Linked DNA regions of Homo sapiens: regions 2, 3, 4, 5, 6 and 7 are each linked to region 1. Evidence: promoter capture Hi-C in 16 types of primary human blood cells and fetal thymus (Javierre and others, 2016). All regions are on one chromosome and are shown on one strand. Each heading gives the region's core, a stretch centred on a gene start or on the middle of the fragment in contact. The rest is flanking DNA. Distances are from core to core; before and after follow the strand shown.

Region 1 (2,700 bases), core at 156-2,655:
GCCTCTCAGTGAGAGGTGAAAAGAGATAGATCTGTGAAGGGAAAGGTAAATGACAAAGAGCTAAGAGCATGGAAGCTGAACCAGGTCACAACTGTCAATTCCCCCAAGGCCGGAGGCTAAGCCCCTAGCCTGATCTCCCTGCAAAAGGTCAAAGGTAGAAGCCTGGGAATAAGAGCCTCTCACAGGCGTAGAGACATGCCATAGAAATAGCAGCTATTTGTCAGGATTCTCACACCCAGAGAGACCCCAAGGGCAGGGCCAGGCTCACAACCAGCATCAGTAGGAAGTTCTCCTAAGCCACTAAGCACACTTCTGACGAGCTGCAAAGCCGGCAGGAAGAACTGGGGAGCTGAAAGAAAGCCATAAAGAGAATCCCTCTCTGAGGGTAGTGAGAAAAAGAGAGGCAGACCATTTCCAGAGAAAACCAGGCCTAGAGACAAAGACGACACCAGGAAGAGGTTTGGTAGAAAAGACAGGTAAGGATTCTTGAACCTTTTGTTCACCACCTTATGATCTCCAGTTATGGGGTTTGGGTGTGAGGGGCTAGAGATAGGAAGCTCACCCTAACCTCTCGACCCCAAACCCAGGGTACTGCAAAGCTAGGTTGCAAGGTGACTTCATTGTAAAATCGAGGAAAGGTTTCGGAAGGGGCCGCTACCCAGGAACTCCTATACCCCGGCTCCCTGAGAGATTCTGTTGCCCCTTAGATGAAGGTGGGGGATGAGCGGCGGAGACAGGTGATCCCTGGGTGGAGACCTTTTTCAGGCTGATGAGCAGCCAACGGCTTGCTCTGTGACTGTTTACCCTCCTGCTTTCCATTCTCTCTCTCTGAACATACACAAAGCACCGGAGAGGCCTCAGCCCCGCTGGTACCTGGCTCCGTGGGGAGCTCTGGCGGGCACGCTCCGGGTTGCGGGGGAGCCCATTGGGCACCCGGTCCACACCCGGCCGGCCGCCTCTCCCAGAAAAGCCAGGAGGGCGATGGCTGAGGGGAAGGTGGGCTAATGGCACCGGGGCCCGCCGGGCAGTAGAGAAAAACAAGGGGCAGAGGGCGCAGCAGTGGGGGCGGGGGCTGGGCTCAGAGGCTGGGGGTGCGGGGAGAGGGAGGCTGGGGGAGGGGCGCGGGAGCGCAGGAGGGCGCGCGGGGGGCTGCTTGGGAGGCCGCGGGGGAGGGGCTGGGGCGCCTGGAGGGTAGGCAGGATCCCGGGGCTGCAGGGCCGCGGTCCCTTTGTCCCGCCCCCGGTCCCCGCGCGGCCCGGCCCGGCCCGCGTACCTTCTTGTAGTTCTTGCCGAGCCACAGCCGCACGTTGTCGAACTGGGTCACGGTGTCCGCGGCCTCGTAGTACTTCACGTTGGGGCCGCCGTCCTTCTTCCGCACCGCCATCTTCTCCGGCTCGGGCCCCGCCGCCGCCCGCCCCACTCAGCTCAGCTCCCGCCTCCTCCGCCTCCTCCTCCGCCCGCCTCCCGCCGCCTCCCGCCGCCGCGGCCGCCGCCTCCCGCCGCCTGGGCCGGCCCCGGTCCGCGCTGCGCCCCCTGCCGGCAGGCCGGGCGCGGCGGCGGAGCTCCAGGCGCGGGCCGACCCTGGCGGCCTCCCCGGCAGCGGAGGCGGGAGCCTCCGGGGAGAAGGACGCTTCCTGGAGGGGGCGCCATTCTCCTGAGATCGCTCTTACCAGACGCGAAGCCCTTTCCCTCTTTTTGCCTCAGCTCGGGAGTGTCACCTCGCTATCCCACTCCAGGCGGCCGCCAGTCGCTGGAGCAGCCCCAACCCGTAGACCCGAGTGGTCCTCACCTTGCGCATTCCTAACCCGACGAAGCCCCTCGTCCCCCAAAACCCCAAACCCCTTTCCCCAAGAAGTTCCTTCCTTCCATCCATTCACAGCAGCTCCCCATTTAAACTTTTCAGAGTCTCCCTCACTCCTCGCGCCTTGTCCACCCAGCACTCCCCTCACTTGTTAACCCAAATGTCCCCTAGTCGCCACCCTGGCGGCCCAGTGCCTTCCCTCAACTGCTTCCTCCGCAGGCCTCGCTGTCGCCTCCTAAGTAGGTGTGAGCTCCTACTCGAGACCCCGACTCTTCGCTAGGCAGGAGACCCTCCCTCCCTGGGTCACCCAGTCCATCCGACTCTTTTTCTTTGGGTGGCGTAGATAGGAGGTAAGGAACCGAGGGGTGGGGAGTCCTCAGGTGTGTGTGTGTCGGGGCCGGTACCCTGCTTCCGGTTCCCGCACGCATTCCCGGATTGCAGTGCGGACCCCTTCTGTAAGCGCGCGATAAAGCGCGGTTTTGGAAGTCACGGTGGCCGAGTGGTTAAGGCGTTGGACTCGAAATCCAATGGGGTTTCCCCGCACAGGTTCGAATCCTGTTCGTGACGGGTTTTTTTTTTTTTTCTTTCTTCTTCTTATTATTAAAAGGGAGTCTCGCTCTGTTGCTCAGGCTGGAGTGCAGTGGCGCGATCTCGGCTCACCGCAACCTCCGCTTCCCGGGTTCAAGCAATTCTCCTGCCTTAGCTTCCCGAGTAGCTGGGACCACAGGCATGCGTCACCATACCTGGCTAATTTTTGTATTTTTAGTAGAGACAGGTTCACCATATTGGCCAGGCTGGTCTCAAACTCCTGACCTCAGGTTATCTGCCCGCCTCGGCCTCCCAAAATGCTGGGATTACAGGCGTCGACTTTTTTAACCCCTTTCACAGCACATAAAGGT
Region 2 (2,700 bases), core at 148-2,647, 390 kb before region 1:
ACAATGCCTAGCATATAACTCTTAAGAACAATGCCTAGCATATAACTAACACTTACATAAGAAAATGATGATATAAAAAATTTCCAGATGTGAAAAAAAATCAAGTGTGCACAGTGTGTGTATACGTGTATCTATATATACACATACATACATATACACATGTACAGACCCCATATATAAAATCTTCCAAAAGTATGTACTGTTCTAAAAACCTCAGTAAAGTCAGATCTGAGAATGGATACAAAGAGTACTTAATTCTTAATTGATATACTCCACTATGTACTGACTTTTTACTTGTAAATACACTGCCTTTTATAATTAAATGCACTAACACAACTATGAGGAACAAAAATGTTCAAAGTTTAGGACTCAACGGCTCTTAATGTACTATAGTACAAAATGGCCAGACATTTGTGGAAAAAGCCCCAAATTAAAGATGTTTAGGATCACCCTTGTGGAACAGTTTAAACAAATCAAGATCTACTTTCCATTCTAGCACTTTGTCCTCCCATCCTCCACTGTAAATCAGAAAGCAAGAGAGAACAGAGTGCTACTTCAGAAACATAACCTCTACCCAACACCCTCCTCCCTTACAAAACTCCTTTATATAGAGTGTCACACTTTTTTTTTTTTTTTTCCCGAGACAGCTGTGGCTCCCAGGCTGGAGTGCAGTGCCACAGTCTCGGCTCACTGCAACCTCCACCTCCCAGGTTCAAGCAATTCTCCTGCCTCAGCCTCCCAAGTAGCTGGAATTACAGGTGCCCTCCACCACGCCCAACTAATTTTTGTATTTTTAGAAGAGACAGGGTTTCACCATCTTGGCCAGGCTGGTCTTGAACTCCTGACCTCGTAATCCACCCACCTCGGCCTCCCAAAGTGCTGGGATTACAAGTGTGTGCCACCGTGCCTGGCCTCAGTTTTACACTTTTCCAGAAAAGTGCAAAACTCTTATGAACAGTTAACAGAATGGGCCGGGCACGGTGGCTCACACCTGTAATCCCAGCACTTTGGGACGCCAAGGCAGACGGATCATTTGAGGTCAGGAGTTCAAAACCAGCCTGGCCAACATGGTAAAACCCTGTCTCTACTAAAAATACAAAAATCAGTCGGGCAGTAGTGGCACACACCTATAATCCCAGCTACTCGGGAGGCTGAGGCAGGAGAATTGCTTGAGCCTGGGAAGCAGAAGTTACGGTGAGCCAAGATCACGCCACTGCACTCCAGTCTGGGCAACAGAGTGAGATCCTGTCTCAAAAAAAAAAAAGTTAACAGAGTTTACACAGTTTTACACTGCATACAGAATTGTACAGATTCTCTATAGAGTAACAGAATAATCTATTATGGTGACCCTACAAAAGAACAACAAAGGCTAGGAGAATTAAACTATGTCTGGTCTTGAAGTCACCTGGTCCTCATTACCTATTACATAACTCAGAGACAATTTGCTTTACTTCACTGGGACCAAGTACTTTGAAGTAGTCCCTTCTAAAAAACAAAAAAATGACCTAATCAGAAAGGAAAAGGCCAATGGGAACATGTAAGAGGTAAACAAAGTTAAACATTAAATACATTAAGAAAAGAGCTGCCTGCTCTGTACTCAGATTATAAAAAAGGGATAATTACACATCAACAGTTTTTTCAGGGGGTTCTTCCTCTTTGACAGGGAGCTCAATGGGCTTTGTTTCTTCTTCCTAAAACCAAATGAAACAAGGTGGTTAACATAAATCTAAAGAATAAATATCTATCAAAAGAAGAACATCAGAACTCCAAAATAAACCAGTCTCTCAGAACCTTCATACCCATCTTATGCTCCCCTAATAAATTTACATCTAAGTCCTCCAATGACTGATGTTAAAGCAATGTGGCCAAAGCAGTGGCACATTACCAGAGACTAACCTTACTCTATCCAACTCACCTCTGTTTCATCTCCCAGTACATCTTCTTCATTTGCCTCCTCTTCAGCTAAAGAATATTAAAATATTCAGGTCAAGCCCTGCTACAAAACCATCTTGATCACTTACCAAGGTTAAAATTATAATCACTTTGCTTTCCCCCAAAAAATCCAACAGTGAAGGCAGAAACTGATGCACATAAAATCTGCTACATCTGGAGAAGATAAAACCAGATTTCTACCTAACATTAATTACAAATGTGAACTCCAGTTGGACTGAAGAACTAAATGTGAAGTCAAACTAGAGAATTAATTTTAAAAGTAATGTTGGGCCAGGCACCGTGGCTCTCTGTAATCCCAGCAATCTGGGAGGCAGAGGCAGGTGGATCGTTTGAACCTAGGAGTTCAAGCGACCAGCTTGGGGAACACAGCGAAACCCCGTCTTTACAAAAAACATAAAAAAATTAGCTGGGTGTGGGGGTGTGCGCCTATAGTCTTAGCTACTGGGGAGGCTGAAGTGGGAACATTACTTGAACCCAGAAGGCAGAGGCTGCAGTGAGCTGAGATCATGTCACTGCACTCCAGCCTGGGTGACAGAGCAAGACCCAGTCTTGAATAACAAACAAAAAAAGTATGTGGAAAAGTATCTTTGAGATTTAGTGGTGGGGAAAGATTTGTTTAAAAGAAAAACAACCCAGAACCAAAAGTAAGAGGTGAAAAATTGAAGATTTTTCAAAACTAAGTACTTCTACTTAAGGATAGCACAAAGAAACTTAAAAGACAAATGACAAGACATTTGTTTTTGTTGA
Region 3 (2,700 bases), core at 66-2,565, 330 kb after region 1:
CCAATAGAGGCATGCAAACATTTTTCTTTATTTTTCTTTTTCTTTTATTTTGAGACAGGATCTCACTTTGGTTGCCTGGGCTGGAGTACAGTGGCGCCATCTCAGCTCACTGCAGCCTCGACCTCCCAGGCTCAGATGGCTCTCCCAACTCAGCCTCCTGAGGAGTTGGGACTACAGATATGCACTACCATGCCTGGCTAGTTTTTTGTATTTTTAGCAGAAATGGGGTTTTGCCATGTTGCCCACATTGGTCTTGAACTCCTGGACTGAAGCAATCTGCCCACCTCAGCCTCCCAAAGTGCTGGGACATTTTTCAGCTACATTTTGGGGTTGACCTAGCCCCTACTCCTTCACCTTGGACACTTGTTTAAAAGAGTTGTTTTTCTGGAGAAATCACAAACAAGCCTATATTGAATCAGGTACAAATGTCTCTTCCCCAAAGAAGTTACAGATAACTCTCATTTTGCTTTTTTCCCTTCAAAACAATTCCTGAGTGCTGGGTTCATGAGAACCAAGAATTAGAGAGGCATTGACTAAATCTGGAAAAATGTGGGCAATGTAATGGGCAAAGCAGAAGGGCGTCAAAGTAAATACACTGGAGGAAGTAGGATTCTTCCTCCTCCCGTATACTTCCTGAATCTAACCACAGAACACCATTACCTTCCCCATCATTTCCACAGAATTCCATAACTCCTTTACAAATATACTCACCTGTAATGCCAGCAGTTTTGGAGACTGAGGTGGGCAAATTGCTTGAGCTGAGGAATTCAAGACCAGCCTGGGCAACATGATGAAACCCCGTCTCTACCAAAAAAAAAAAAATTACAAAAGTTAGCCAGGTGTGGTGGTGCATGCCTGTAGTCCCAGCTACAGGGTGGGGAGGGGTGGGATGGGTGTGAGGATCACCTGAACCTGGGGAAGTCAAAGCTGCCTGTTGTGAGCCGTGATTGTGCTACTGCACTCCAGCCTAGGTGACAGAGTGAGACCCTGTCATAAAAAAAAATATATGTTTATAATACATATACTCACCAGAATGAAGGATTTAGTTTCCAGTTTTGTTGGTGCTCTTTAACATAATACACCTTTGGCATCAGTTTGCATATCCGGGTCATTTTACTTCTGTGGTCCTAATTTACCAGATTATAAAAATTTAGATTTTTCGGTCGGGTGCCGTGGTTCACACCTGTAATCCCAGCACTTTGGGAGGCCAAGGCGGGTGGATTGCCTGAGGTCAGGAGTTCGAGACCAGACTGGCCAACATGGTGAAACCCCGTCTCCACTAAAAATACAAAAATTAGCTGGGCGTCGTGGCACATGCCTGTAGTACCAGCTACTCAGGAGGCTAAGGCGGGAGAATCGTTTGAACCCGGGAGGCAGAGGTTTCAGTGAGCCAAGATTGCACCACTGCACTCCAGCCTGGCGACAGAGTGAGACTCTGTCTCAGGGGGAAAAAAAAAAAGTAGAAAGAAAAATTAGACTTAAAAAAAAAGTTAAATTGGGTTGATTGCCTTTATGAATCAGGCCTTCAAGAGAAAGGTTTCTGTACCACATTGTTAGGGTAAAGGAGAAGATATCATCCAAGGGCCTAAACAGCAAGGATAAATTGGTTAATGAGAGTCTCTGAGAGCAGAAAAAGGACTTAAAAAAATATATATATATATATATATGGGCCGGGCGCGGTGGCTCACTCCTGTAATCCCAGCACTTTGGGAGGCCAAGGCGGGCAGATCACCTGAGGTCGGGAGTTTGAGACCAGTCTGGCCAACAAGACTACTAAAAATACAAAAAAATTAGCCGGGCATGGTGGCGCATGCCTATAGTCTCAGCTACTCGGGAGGCTGAGGCAGGAGAATCGCTTGAACCCGGGACGCAGAGGTTGCGGTGAGCCAAGATAGCACCACTGCACTCTAGCCTGGGCAACAGAGCAAGACTCTGTCTCAGAAAAAAAAAAAGATATCACTGAGTGATGCCTTCATTTATTTATTTACTGCATTTGGCTGCTGTGTTTCCAGTCTCAGTTGCAATTCCCACACTGAGGCTCTCCCACCCTTCCTGTGTCCCCTGAGCTGAGCAGGCACTTCCTGTCCTATTGGAAATGAAAGTTAGAGATTGGGGGTAGGGTATGTATATTTACTCTGCAGAATACTAATACTGTCTGTTCCATTATCATAGCAAAAAAGTGACACGGAAACTAGAATAGAGACCAGAACTTCATTTGAGGGAGGGTTTGGGCTTAATATTTGTTGTCACAAAACAGACAGGGTTAATTTATATCTCAAGAAACTACTTAGGATGGCAGCAAGGTGGCCTTATGAAGGGATTTGAAGGCTTTCATTTAACATCCCTATTGCACTTGGATTGGTAGGGGTTACTGGATATCATTCTTAAGTTTTTGGTTTCCTTTCTTGTTAAGGTTACGCCTACAAAGACATTCTTTGGAAACTAGTAGAGGTAAGTGTTGCAACTCTATTAGGTTCTTGACTCTGAAATTTGTATTCCTTCCTAAGAATTTTGTGTTTTTATTCTGTTGAAGCATATGCTTCTTAAGTATTTTTTTTTTTTAAACAGCTCAAAGACAACTCAAAGCAGACATCCCAACTGTAGACTTCAATTTAGACATAAACTCCAGGTTTGGTGAGTTACTGTAATTGTTTCAGTTTCATGGATCTTAAAGATGAGGAAATAGCAGGGTAAAGTGTT
Region 4 (2,700 bases), core at 31-2,530, 310 kb after region 1:
GTCAGTTAAAAGATCATCATAAAGCGGCAATGGGGGTGCAGTGGCCTCTGGCGTAGGTGGCGGTGGCGCAGGCATGTCAGAGTGGAAGTCCTCCTTTGAAATTACGTTCTCAATTTGTGCAGTATCATCAGGGGAAAGAGAGCTGAGAGCTTCCTCGACCTCCTCAGAGGAGAGGAAAGAGGGATCAGTCTCCATATTGTCCTCCTGAGTCTATAAGGAGTCTAAGACAGAGCGAACCGAAGCCCAGATTGACCAAATGGTGGGTGGGATAAAATGTCCCCCTTTATGAGCAATTTTGAATTGTTTGCCAATCTCATCCCAATCTTTAAGTTCTGGAGTTCCCTGAGTCGGAAACCAAGGGCAAAGAAGATCTACAACCTCAAATAGTTCAATTAACTTTTCAGTAGAAACTTTAACACCTCCTTCTTTAAGAAGAGTTTTTATAAAATTTAAATAAGCCGAATACTTTGTACTGGCCTGTCCCATGGTGTCCCCGGAAAACTCTGAGTGCTCAAGCTTACCACCAAGTTTATTGACTGCAATCCTCAGGAATCTCTCGTTGAACTCCTCCGCTGATCCCGCACTCAGGGCGCAACTTCACACAGCGAGGGAGAGCCCCACGTCGGAGCGCCAGATGTAGGGACCAGCCCCACAGGGTCGGTAGGTCTCTCCCTGTGTGCGGCGATGAGAGAGTGTAGAAATAAAGACACAAGACAAAGAGACAAGAGAAAAGGCAGCTGGGCCCGGGGGACCACTACCACCAATGCGCAGACACCGGTAGTGGCCCCGAATGTCTGGCTGCGCTGTTATTTATTGGATACAAGGCAGAAGGGGCAGGGTAAAGAATGTGAGTCACCTCCAATGATAGGTAAGGTCACGTGGGTCACGTGTCCACTGGACAGGGGGCCCTTCCCTGCCTGGCAGCTGAGGCAGAGAGGGAGAGGAGACAGAGAGAGAGACAGCTTACATCATTATTTCTGCATATCAGGGACTATTAGTATTTTCACTAATTTACTACTGCTATCTGGAAGGCAGAGCCAGGTGTACAGGATGGAACATGAAGGCAGACTAGGAGTGCGACTACTGAAGCACAGCATCACAGGGAGACGGTTAGGCCTCCCGATAACTTCGGGCAAGCCTGACTGATGTCAGGCCCTCCACAAGAGGTGGAGGAGCAGAGTCTTCTCTAAACTCCCCTGGGGAAAGGGAGACCCCCCCCCCCGCCCCGCCCTTTCCCGGTCTGCTAAGTAGCGGGTGTTGTTCCTTGACACCTTTTGCTACCGCTGGACCACGATCCTCCTGATAACGGGCGTCTTCCCAGACGCTGGCGTCACCGCTAGACCAAGGAGCCCTCTGGTGGCCCTGTCCGGGCATAACAGAAGGCTCGCACTCTTGTCTTCTGGTCACACCTCACTATGTCCCCTCAGCTCCTATCTCTGTATGGCGTGGTTTTTCCTAGGCTATGATTATAGAGCGAGGATTATCATAATATTGGAATAAAAATTGCTACAAACTAATGATTAATGATATTCATATACAATCATATCTAAGATCTATATCTGGTATAACTATTCTTGTTTTATATTCTATTATACTGGAACAGCTCGTGTCCTCTGTCTCTTGCCTCGGTGCCTGGGTGGCTTGCTGTCCACAATTTGAGATGGTGTCTTGCTCTGTTGCCCAGGCTGGAGTGCAGTGGCACCATCTTGTCTTCTTGCAACCTCTACCTCCTGAGTTCAAGCAATTCTCCTGCCTCAGCCTCCTGAGTAGCTGGGACTATAGGCATGAGCCACCACACCCGGTTAACTTTTGTATTTTTAGTGGGGACAGAGTTTCACCATGTTGACCAGGCTGGTCTCGAACTCCTGACCTCAAGTGATCCACCCACCTCAGCTTCCCAAAGTACTGGAATCACAGGCTTGAGCCACCACACCCAGCCCCAGCTTGTATATGAATACTGTCCTCTTTCTGTTCCAACAGTATTCCAATTTGGGTAATATATGTTTTATGGTTACCTTAGTTATTACAGACAGTGCTGCAGTAAATAAGCTTGTATATCTTGTCATTTTGCAAGTTTGCAAATATAACTGTAGGATAAATTTCTAAAAGTATAATTGATGTGTCAAAGAGTATATATATTTGTAATTTTTAAAGATGTTGACAAATTGCCGTCCATACTGGTCATGCCATTTTTCAGTTTTACCAGCAATGTAGTAGAGTGCCTGTTTTTCCTCCCTCACTTCAGTTGGTTATCACTTTTTTTTTTTTTGAGATGGAGTCTCTCTCTGTTGCCCAGGCTGGAGTGCAGTGACACGATCTTAGCTCACTGCAACCTCTATTTCCCGGGTTCAAGTTATTCTCCTGCCTCAGCCTCCCAAGTAGCTGAGATTACAGGTATGTATCACCACACCCGGCTAACTTTTTTTTTGTATTTTTAGTAGAGATGGGGTTTCGCCATGTTGACCAGGCTGGTCTCGAACTCCTGACCTCAGGTGCTCCGCCTGCCTCGGCCTCCCAAAGTGCTGGGATTACAGGCGTGAGCCACCGTGGCTGGCCGGTTATCACTTTTTTTGTGTGCTTGCCATGCCAGTAGGTGTAATATGCTATTTCAGTATTGTATTTTTATTTTTATTTATTTATTTTTTTTTGAGATGGAGTTTCGCTCTTGTTGCCCAGGCTGGAGTGCAGTGGCGAGATCTC
Region 5 (2,700 bases), core at 98-2,597, 360 kb before region 1:
CCTTCTGGAATTCCAGGTGTTCCCTGGCAGTTGCAAGCAGATGGAATGGAAAGAAAAGAGTTCCCATCCTTCTGGTTCCCAGTCTCGTTTTCTTTTGAGAGTTCCTGGTCCACTCCTGATTCTTCTTCTGAAGACGTCTCACTCTGATCAGGGTCCTCTGCATCTCTAGGTGGTCCTGGACCCCCTGGGGGGCCATGGCTTGGGTCCAACCAATGGGCTGGGTTTGGGTGCTGTGTGTGCTTAGGACCAGAGTGCTCTGTGAGGCAGCGGGTACCATTAGGAGCAGTCCCTGCTGAGTCCCTGAGTCCTGAGAATGAAGGTATTTCAGGGTCCACGGAGGGTCCTAAAGTCCTGAGGGAGGCACCACCACTGTGGTGGGCTCCATACAACCCTCTTTCTCCGGGGTGCTTCTGGGCCATGACCCCGGGGCTTCCTGAGGGTCTTAGGTCACAGCCATCATGGTGTGTTCTGATGCCTGTAACAGATATCAAGGTGGAGACAGTCAAGGATGAGACCAAGAGAGGAATTAAACAATCTCAAATAGTGGACACATTTAATTCATCCACCTCCCTTGTTTTCCCAAGTTCTTTTGGGGCATTCGCTATTCCTAGCAATAAGCCAAAACTAGACTCACCACAACCCTGCTTGCTCCCTCCCCTCTCCTCCAAATCACTTAAGTTTTTCTTCTTTCCCCAGAAAACTATAACCTTCAATCAGGGAAACAGGGAGGTACCGTAAAGGGTGTGGTCGGGGGAGGGTGGGTCACTCTTAGGAAAATGGGAAAGACCGCCGGAAAGGGGGCCACAGACTTCCAGTAATGGGTGGGGGCCATGCGGCCCTGGAGGAAAATCTGGGGGCGGAGCTTAGGGCTGCCCCTAAGAAAGACTAACAGGGAACCCACCGGCTGTGTAGAAGGGACGAAGGTGGCCGGGCACCGTGGCTCACGCCTGTAATCCCAGCACTTTGGGAGGCCGAGGCCGGCGGATCACGAGGTCAGGAGTTCGAGACCAGCCTGGCCAACATGGTGAAACTCCGTCTCTACTAAAAATACAGAAATTCGCCAGGCGTGGTGGCGCGCACCTGTAGTCCCAGCTACTCGGGAGGCTGAGGCAGAAGAATCGCTTGAACCCGGGAGGTGGAGGTTGCAGTGAACCGAGATCGTGCCACTGTACTCCAGTCTGGGTGACAGAGCGAGACTCCATCTCAAAAAAACAAAAAAAAACGAAAAAAAAAAAAAAGACGGACGTACCGAAGAACGGCGGTAACTCCTCCCCCTCGAGCCGCCCGGCCTGGGGCCAGGGTGAGCTACGAGAGCCGCTCTCCCGGCTCCGCCTCCCGCTCACGCTCTGCTTCCGCCTTCCGTCCCCGCGGCCGCCGGCGACCTGGGCCTACTTCCACTTCCGGGGTCACCAGGGAAGAGACGGGAAGGAAAAGAAATAGCGGTTGGCTGAGAGGCAAGCCAATCCAGCTAGGGCTGCGTCGACTCCAAGGAGGCGGTCCTAAGGAAGTACTGGCCCCGCCATTTAAAGGCCCCTCCCTCCGCGTGTGGGAATGGGATTCCCGCAGGTTGCACCGCAGGAAGCAAGGCAGGTGGACTCTGCACCAATGCCTGCAGACTAAGGGCAGACTCTCAGGATTGCTCTGGGTGTATTCCTAGGCTTTGTATTCCTGGGAGATGGAGGGCAGCCACCGAGCCACATATAGTCTTTTTCCCTTGCAGACAAAACCAGGGAGCTCAGAAGAGTCACTGCCCTGATCCCTTCCGTGCCGGCAGCTGCGAGGACACAGGCCCCTTTGTATCCTGCGGTGCGGAGGTGGAGCAGAGGAGAGGGTGCCCCGGCTGGCCCCCTCCCTCGCCCCGCAGCACTGCCCCTCCTTTCACAGCAACCCACGGCCTCCCCCGCGCTTGACCCAGCTGGCGAGCTGCCCCTTATACCTGGATCCGCCCCTCGGGTCGCAGCTCCCCAGGCCCGATCACCGAGCGGTGCCTAGGAACTGGGAGCGTAACTTGGCTCGGCTCAGAACTTTGCCCGTGAGCCAAAGAACACTGAACTCATCTACCTGCTGCTTGACATCTCATCTGCATACCAAGCTATTTGGTGGACGTCCACAAGCGCCCCCGCCCCCACGTAGACCCAGTTGGGTCCCCGTTCCGTCGGTCCCCTCCTCTGCACACGCCTCTAGCCTTATACCCCGTCTTGATCCGAAAGTTTTTCCACCCATGAACCCCCAGTTGGCGCTCCCCGACCAGCAAAAGCCCCTTCCCTGGTCCACGATCCCGACCACCCGGTTCTCCAGGAGACAATACTCCAATTCTCTGGAAAGTGGAAGAAACCAAGCTGAAGCTAGGGGGGCGCTGGGACCCCTATTGGGGCTTTGAGAGCTTCCGGTTGTCATCTCCTAAGTATTCGGAGACCCTTCTCCAAAACTCTTGGGGTGACCCTCAAGACTCTTACCTGCTATATAGTTGGGGGTCTCTGGTCCTGGACTAGAGCAGTAGGCAACCTGGGTCCCCCCACACACACGGGAAAGAATTGGAGGGGCCTGCCTTGTGATGTCACCCCTCCTCCCCCCACCGCGCGCACGCGCGCGCGCACACACACAAACACAAACACACACCCCAACACACACGCCCTGTCCCCTTTCTCCACCCTGCAAGCTAGTTGCATTTAGCTCACAGAGCCTGGGCTGCGACTTGAA
Region 6 (2,850 bases), core at 276-2,775, 380 kb after region 1:
TAGAAATCTAGAAGCTTTTCTCTCACTTCTTCTGTTAGGTGGGATTGTCTCCTTGCCTTTCTATTTTATTTTATTTATTTATTTATTTTGAGACAGCGTCTCGCTCTGTCGCCCCGGCTGGAGTGCAGTGGCGCAATCTCGGCTCACTGCAAGCTGCACCTCCCGGCTTCACGCCATTCTCCTGCCTCAGCCTCCCAAGTAGCTGGGACTACAGGCACCCGCCATCACCTCCAGCTAATTTTTTGTATTTTTAGTAGAGACAGGGTTTCACCGTGTTAGCCAGGATGGTCTCGATCTCCTGACGTTGTGATCCGCCCACCTCAGCCTTCCAAAGTGCTGGGATTACAGGCATGAGCCACCACGCCTGGCTGTCCCTTTGCCTTTCTGAAGCTGTTATGAGTATTATACATAGAGCTTGTGAGGCAGGCCTGCTAGACACCTTTTCTGTAATGGTTAAAGAAAAGGAAAACAAAAGGAAAAGGCAGAAGAGGATTAAGGTTGCTGGTGACCACTGTTTAGGGCAGAGTGACTGCTTAAATTCTTAAAAATACAACTATTGGATGATATTGCCATTTTGCACATTCTGTCCCCTGGAAGGGCTCTCCTACCTCTTCTTCCAGGAGTAAAACCCTCTGACAAAAGCTCAAAGGTTTAGGAGCCTTCAGGGTCCTAGGAGACTGTAGCTTTCAGGGCTCCGTGGTGACACAGTGAACTCTGCATCTGGCTCTCTCCCTGTTCCCTTCTCCCCTCCTCCTGCTCTTCCTCCATCAGGGAGTGAACAGGCATTCCTACTTAGAGGATTCTGCGTGGCTGGAAGAGAAGTGGGGAGGGGCTGCTCAAAACAAGCCAGCCAAGGAGCAAGGCAGTCTGAGGGAATCCAGCCTCTGGGACCGGCTGCTGGGGGAGAGCGGGAATGCTGCTCTGCCTGTTTCTAAAAGAGACAGCCAAACACCATTTATGACTTGTATGATGGGCTTGTATAGTACTAGAAATATTAAATCTGCACTTCTCCCTCCTGGAACTCAATATACAACCCGTGGTAGTGGGACTGGGTGTTAACAAATAGAATAATCTTTGTTTATGTGGGACCCTTCCTATAGTCTCTTTTCTGAAATGTCATTTGTGGGGAGGGCTGAGGGTGGGAGAGGGATAAGAGATGTGAGCCTCATTTTCTCACTGTTATTTCCACAGCAACAGGAACAGGACCCCACAAATTTATACATCTCAAACCTCCCACTGTCAATGGATGAGCAGGAACTGGAGGGGATGCTGAAGCCCTTTGGCCAGGTTATCTCCACCCGTATCCTTCGAGATACCAGTGGGACCAGCAGAGGTGTTGGCTTTGCAAGGTGAGGATGGCAGGAGTGGGGAAATGATGAGGTTAATAACAAATGTCACTTGGGGGTCACCAGAAAACAAAATCTATGCCTTTCCCACACAAGGTCAAAATACTTTACTATTATTCAAAAATACTTGATGGTAAGTCAAAAGTTCATTTTAGGCCAGGTGCGGTGGCTTACACCTGTAATCCCAGCACTTTAGGAGGCCAAGGCAGGCATATCACCTGAGGTCAGGAGTTTGAGACCAGCCTGGCAAACATGGTGAAACCCCGTCTCTACTAAAAATACAAAAATTAGCCAGACGTGGTGGCGCATGCCTGTAATCCCAGCTACTCAGGAGGCTGAGGCAGGAGAATTGCTTGAACCTGGGAGGCAGAGGTTGCAGTGAGCTGAGATCGCACCACTGCACTGCAGCCTGGGGAACAGAGTGAGACTCTGTCTCAAAAAAAAAAAAAAAAAAAAGGTTCATTTTATTATAGGTTACAATACTCAAAAACCCATTAGCCCCACCTAAATATTTTTTTTATAAAGATGGGGTCTTGCTGTGTTGCCCAGGCTGCTCTTGAACATCTGGGCTCAAGTGATCCTCCTGCCTCAGCCACCTAAGCAGTTGGGATTACAGGCATGAGCCACCACACTCGGCTAAGCTCCCTACTACTTCCTAGGGAAGTACTCTAGGCTTTGTTCCTTTAATCCAGACCCAACCAGAGTAAAAAATTCTGTATATTCTTATAGTTTACTGAGTATTTCTCATCTTGTCTCATTTAATCTTTACAACATCCCTGTGAGATAAATATTCTCTATCTTACAGATGAGGAAAGTGAACTCTTCAGTAGAAATGATTTGCCCAGGGTCTTACAGGAGTGGGTGTTAGAGCAGAGCCCTGATCCTTCTGGCTTTGAGAGCAGTAGGATGAGGTAGAAGTTTTGATCTTCCTTTTCAGATCTGTTGGGAGACCTGTATTCCAGAACAATTCTGCACCTGTGATATCAGAGCTTGTGAGCCTTGGTTCACTCTCTGAAGTGGAGATTGATTCAGATGAGTAATTTTCCCACAGTATTCCCTATACCTGCAGTTTTCCCAGGTGCCCTTCTTTGGGCTTTGGTATCTGCCCTCACTGTCGTAGGGTATCAGCCTCCCTTAGCCCACTTAAGAAATGGCTCTGCTTTTATTTATTTTAAGATTTTATTTGAAAGGAGATTCTTTTGACTTTTTTTTTTTTTTTTAGTTTCAAAATGACTGGACTAAGTGAGCCAAGCACCCCTTTTTGCTTTATATCTTGTCTGGTCCGTGAACACCCCCTTACTCTGAGTGTTTCAGACCTTGGGAACAAGAAATAGTTTCTCTTGGCTGGGCGTGGTGGCTCACGCCTGTAATCCCAGCACTTTGGGAGGCTGAGGCGGGTGGATCACCTGAGGTCAGGAGTTTGAGACCAGCCTGGCCAACCTGGTGAAACCCCGTCTCTACTAAAAATACAAAAATTAGCTGGGTATGGTGGCGGGCTCCTGTA
Region 7 (2,700 bases), core at 13-2,512, 400 kb after region 1:
TGGCAGAAGGAAACATAGGGGAGCCTTCCAGCTCACAGCCAAGGGTTGGGCTCTTAAACACTATGCCTAGTGTTTTCTGAATGCTGTCTTCATGGAGCCCAGCTCTTACTCTCTTTGTACTTTACATCTCACCCCCACTCATTACAGATGCTCATAACATTCTTAAAATATTTTAGTACTTGGCATTTTTCTGTTTTCAGTCAGCTAGAACACACTAGAGTCCTTTCCTCAGATGGCATAATCCTTTATAGGCTCTGAGCCTGCCTAGCCATCTCCTATCGGTGTTATTACTCCTCATCTCAGGCTCTGAGATGATACTCAGACCCTAAACTGATTGGACTTTTTGGAGGAGGGTGCCAGTAGAGAGGTCAGGAAGATGTGGAGATGATGATGGAGAGAGATGTTTTTATTTTATTTTATTTTTTCAGACAGAGTCTTGCTCTGTCGCCCAGGCTGGAGTGCAATGGCACGATCTCGGCTCACTGCAACCTCCGCCTCCCAGGTTCAAGCAATTCTCCTGCCTCAGCCTCCCATGTAGCTGGGATTACAGGCACCCACCACCATGCCCGGCTAATTTTTTTATTTTTAGTAGAGATGGGGTTTCACCATGTTGGCCAGGCTGGTCTCGAACTCCTGACCTCAGGTGATCTGCCCGCCTTAGCCTCCCAAAGTGCTGGGATTACAGGCGTGAGCCACCGCGCCCGGCCTTTATTTTATTTTTTAGAGATGGTCTTGCTGTGTCACCCAGGCTGGAGTGCAGTGATGCAGTCGTAGTCTACTACAGTCTTGAATTCCTGGGCCCAAGGGTTCTTCCCACCTAAGCCTCCCAAGTAGCTGGAAGTACAGGCACATACTACCAAGCCCAGTTCGTTATTTTAAGTTTTTGTAGAGACAGGGGTCTTACTATGTTGCCCAGACTGGTCTTGAACTCCTGTCAAGTGAGCCTCCCACCTCAGCCTCCCAAAGTGCTATGATTACAGGTGTGAGCCTCCATGCTTGGATGAGATGTTGTTTTTAATGTTTTTGGTTTTTTGGTTTTGTTGTTTTGTTTTTTTGAGACAGGGTCTCACTCTGTGGCCCAGGCTGGAGTGCAGTGGCACCATAATGGCTCACTGCAGCCTCGACCTCCCAAGGCTCAGGTGATCCTCTTGCCTCAGCCACCCCTTCCCCGGCCACCAAGTAGCTGGGACTATGGGCTTGTGCCACCATGCCTGGCTAATTTTTTTATTTTTAGTAGAGATGGGGTTTTACCACGTTGGCCAGGCTAGTGTCCAACTCCTGACCTCCAAACAGCTAATTTTTGTATTTTTAATAGAGACAGGTTTTCGCCATGTTGCCCAGCCTCGTCTCGAACTCCTGGGCTCAAATGATCCACCCACCTCGGCCTCCCAAAGTGCTGGGATTATAGGCATGAGCCACCACACCTGGCCTTTTCAGTTTTTTTATTTTTATTTTTTCTTTGAGACGGAGTCTCGCTCTGTCGCCCAGGCTGGAGTGCAGTGGCGTGATCTTGGCTCACTGAAACCTCCATCTCCTGGGTTCAAGCAGTTCTCCTGCCTCAGCCTCCTGAGTAGCTGGGATTACAGGTGCCTGCCACCATGCCTGGCTAATTTTTGTATTTTTAGTAGAGACAGGGTTTTGCCACATTGCCCAGGCTGGTGTTGAACTCCTGGGCTCAAATGATCCACCTGCCTTGGCCTCCCAAAGTGCTGGGATTACAGGCGTGAGCCACTGCACCCGGCCCTTTGTAGTGTTTTTAACTAAAGAATTTGTAGAGTTGCCCAGGCCAGGAAGCCTGGTGGCTCTAAAGGGTAATAGACCTTGTCAGTAACAGATAAGGAGTGGTAAGAGGACATTACTCATATTGAAGATGAAGACCAGACTTTGCTGCTTCACAGGCCATGCGCTGGGTTGGGCCACTTCAGCTCCACTCCATTCGTTTTCCTTTCCTAACTTGACAATCAGCTCACTCACCCTCCCTTAGTGCCTCCAGTGCCTACTCCTGTCACTCCAATGTCAACCCATTGGGAGTTGAGGCCTGTCACTCCAATGTCAACCCGTGGGCTGTTACTTTGCGTCATATGATGCTGTGAGAGGCCTTGCTGGAATGTCCTAGGAATCCCTAGTAGCAGTGGCTATTAGTCTTCTAGAAAAGAACTATTGCTGCTGCCTTGTGCACATGCCCCACCTTCTGGGCAAGTGGCAGCATTGCGCTCATGAGGGGCTTTGCATTCTTAGCCAAGGGCAATAAACTGGGTGGGTGATCTGGCCCAAACTTGCCCCTAGGCTCTGCTAGCCCTGAATCAGCAGGCTTCAGAGACGAGGGTGGGTGTTATAAAAGCCAGTCTGTAAAGGGTAAATTCCAAATCTTGTGCCTTGTTATACCAATCCTTCCTGATTCCCGTTTAAACCAACTACTCTATTTCTGTGCTGCCTACATTTTCAATCCTCCCACGCATTAGCAAATTCCTGAAATTTCCTCATTTGGTAGGCCTTCCATAGGAGTCAGCTATGGACTTCCATAGGAGTTGGCAGCTAAAACCAGACTGTGAGCTTCTGTCTCCGTTCTGATTTTTGCTGCACCTCCCAGGGGACAGTCCCCACATGATTACAAAAGCCAGGTGCCCTCATCACCCGTTACCCCTGACCTGTCCACTTGTTTTGAATAAACCTTCATTCTCCAAGCAGATCCCCAAACTT

What was found. Contacts are between HindIII fragments. The CHiCAGO score rates a contact against its expected background, and 5 or more counts as called.
Region 2: a fragment that was not itself captured here is called in contact with the fragment with the promoter of SMARCC2 in region 1 in 5 of 17 cell types (total CD4 T cells, naive CD8 T cells, non-activated CD4 T cells and 2 more); the score reaches 8.1 in total CD4 T cells.
Region 3: a fragment that was not itself captured here is called in contact with the fragment with the promoter of SMARCC2 in region 1 in 5 of 17 cell types (naive CD4 T cells, total CD8 T cells, total B cells and 2 more); the score reaches 6.2 in naive CD4 T cells.
Region 4: a contact is called between a fragment that was not itself captured here and the fragment with the promoter of SMARCC2 in region 1, in 12 of 17 cell types (naive B cells, total CD8 T cells, naive CD8 T cells and 9 more). The highest score is 13.9, in naive B cells.
Region 5: the fragment with the promoter of DNAJC14 here is called in contact with the fragment with the promoter of SMARCC2 in region 1 in 1 of 17 cell types (naive B cells); the score reaches 5.3 in naive B cells.
Region 6: a fragment that was not itself captured here is called in contact with the fragment with the promoter of SMARCC2 in region 1 in 5 of 17 cell types (erythroblasts, activated CD4 T cells, total B cells and 2 more); the score reaches 6.8 in erythroblasts.
Region 7: a contact is called between a fragment that was not itself captured here and the fragment with the promoter of SMARCC2 in region 1, in 6 of 17 cell types (naive CD4 T cells, total CD8 T cells, fetal thymus and 3 more). The highest score is 7.4, in naive CD4 T cells.

Annotation. Positions count from the first base shown.
Region 1 is chr12:56,188,078-56,190,777 of GRCh38, forward strand. It overlaps SMARCC2 (SWI/SNF related BAF chromatin remodeling complex subunit C2), which reads right to left and starts at 1,406. Exons shown (of 29, transcript NM_001330288.2): 1 at 1,274-1,406. The coding sequence starts at 1,384. It overlaps TRS-CGA4-1 (tRNA-Ser (anticodon CGA) 4-1), which reads left to right and starts at 2,287; the gene lies at 2,287-2,368. It overlaps LOC107984468 (a long non-coding RNA gene), which reads left to right and starts at 2,615. Exons shown (of 2, transcript XR_007063330.1): 1 at 2,615-2,700. RefSeq lists silencers at 1,143-1,362, 1,433-1,712 and an enhancer at 1,953-2,052. The HindIII fragment of the contact is 5,408 bases long and covers 1-2,700 here.
Region 2 is chr12:55,798,939-55,801,638 of GRCh38, forward strand. SARNP (SAP domain containing ribonucleoprotein) reads right to left here. Exons shown (of 11, transcript NM_033082.4): 3 at 1,916-1,962; 4 at 1,624-1,691. Among named protein-coding and RNA genes, the nearest start is that of SARNP, 17 kb to the right of the region's middle. The HindIII fragment of the contact is 8,110 bases long and covers 1-2,700 here.
Region 3 is chr12:56,518,184-56,520,883 of GRCh38, forward strand. It overlaps a transcript of RBMS2 not described here. Among named protein-coding and RNA genes, the nearest start is that of RBMS2, 2.3 kb to the right of the region's middle. The HindIII fragment of the contact is 4,136 bases long and covers 1-2,700 here.
Region 4 is chr12:56,500,072-56,502,771 of GRCh38, forward strand. No RefSeq gene overlaps it. Among named protein-coding and RNA genes, the nearest start is that of SNORA105C, 11 kb to the right of the region's middle. The HindIII fragment of the contact is 1,533 bases long and covers 515-2,047 here.
Region 5 is chr12:55,828,240-55,830,939 of GRCh38, forward strand. It overlaps DNAJC14 (DnaJ heat shock protein family (Hsp40) member C14), which reads right to left and starts at 1,348. Exons shown (of 7, transcript NM_032364.6): 1 at 1,250-1,348; 2 at 1-475. The coding sequence starts at 419. It also overlaps the pseudogene TMEM198B. RefSeq lists a silencer at 1,286-1,395 and enhancers at 1,924-2,661, 2,616-2,700. The HindIII fragment of the contact is 16,581 bases long and covers 1-2,700 here.
Region 6 is chr12:56,570,507-56,573,356 of GRCh38, forward strand. RBMS2 (RNA binding motif single stranded interacting protein 2) reads left to right here. Exons shown (of 14, transcript NM_002898.4): 5 at 1,192-1,349. Among named protein-coding and RNA genes, the nearest start is that of RBMS2, 50 kb to the left of the region's middle. The HindIII fragment of the contact is 3,027 bases long and covers 13-2,850 here.
Region 7 is chr12:56,592,104-56,594,803 of GRCh38, forward strand. It overlaps RBMS2 (RNA binding motif single stranded interacting protein 2), which reads left to right. Exons shown (of 14, transcript NM_002898.4): 14 at 1-2,700. Among named protein-coding and RNA genes, the nearest start is that of BAZ2A, 37 kb to the right of the region's middle. The HindIII fragment of the contact is 7,914 bases long and covers 1-2,700 here.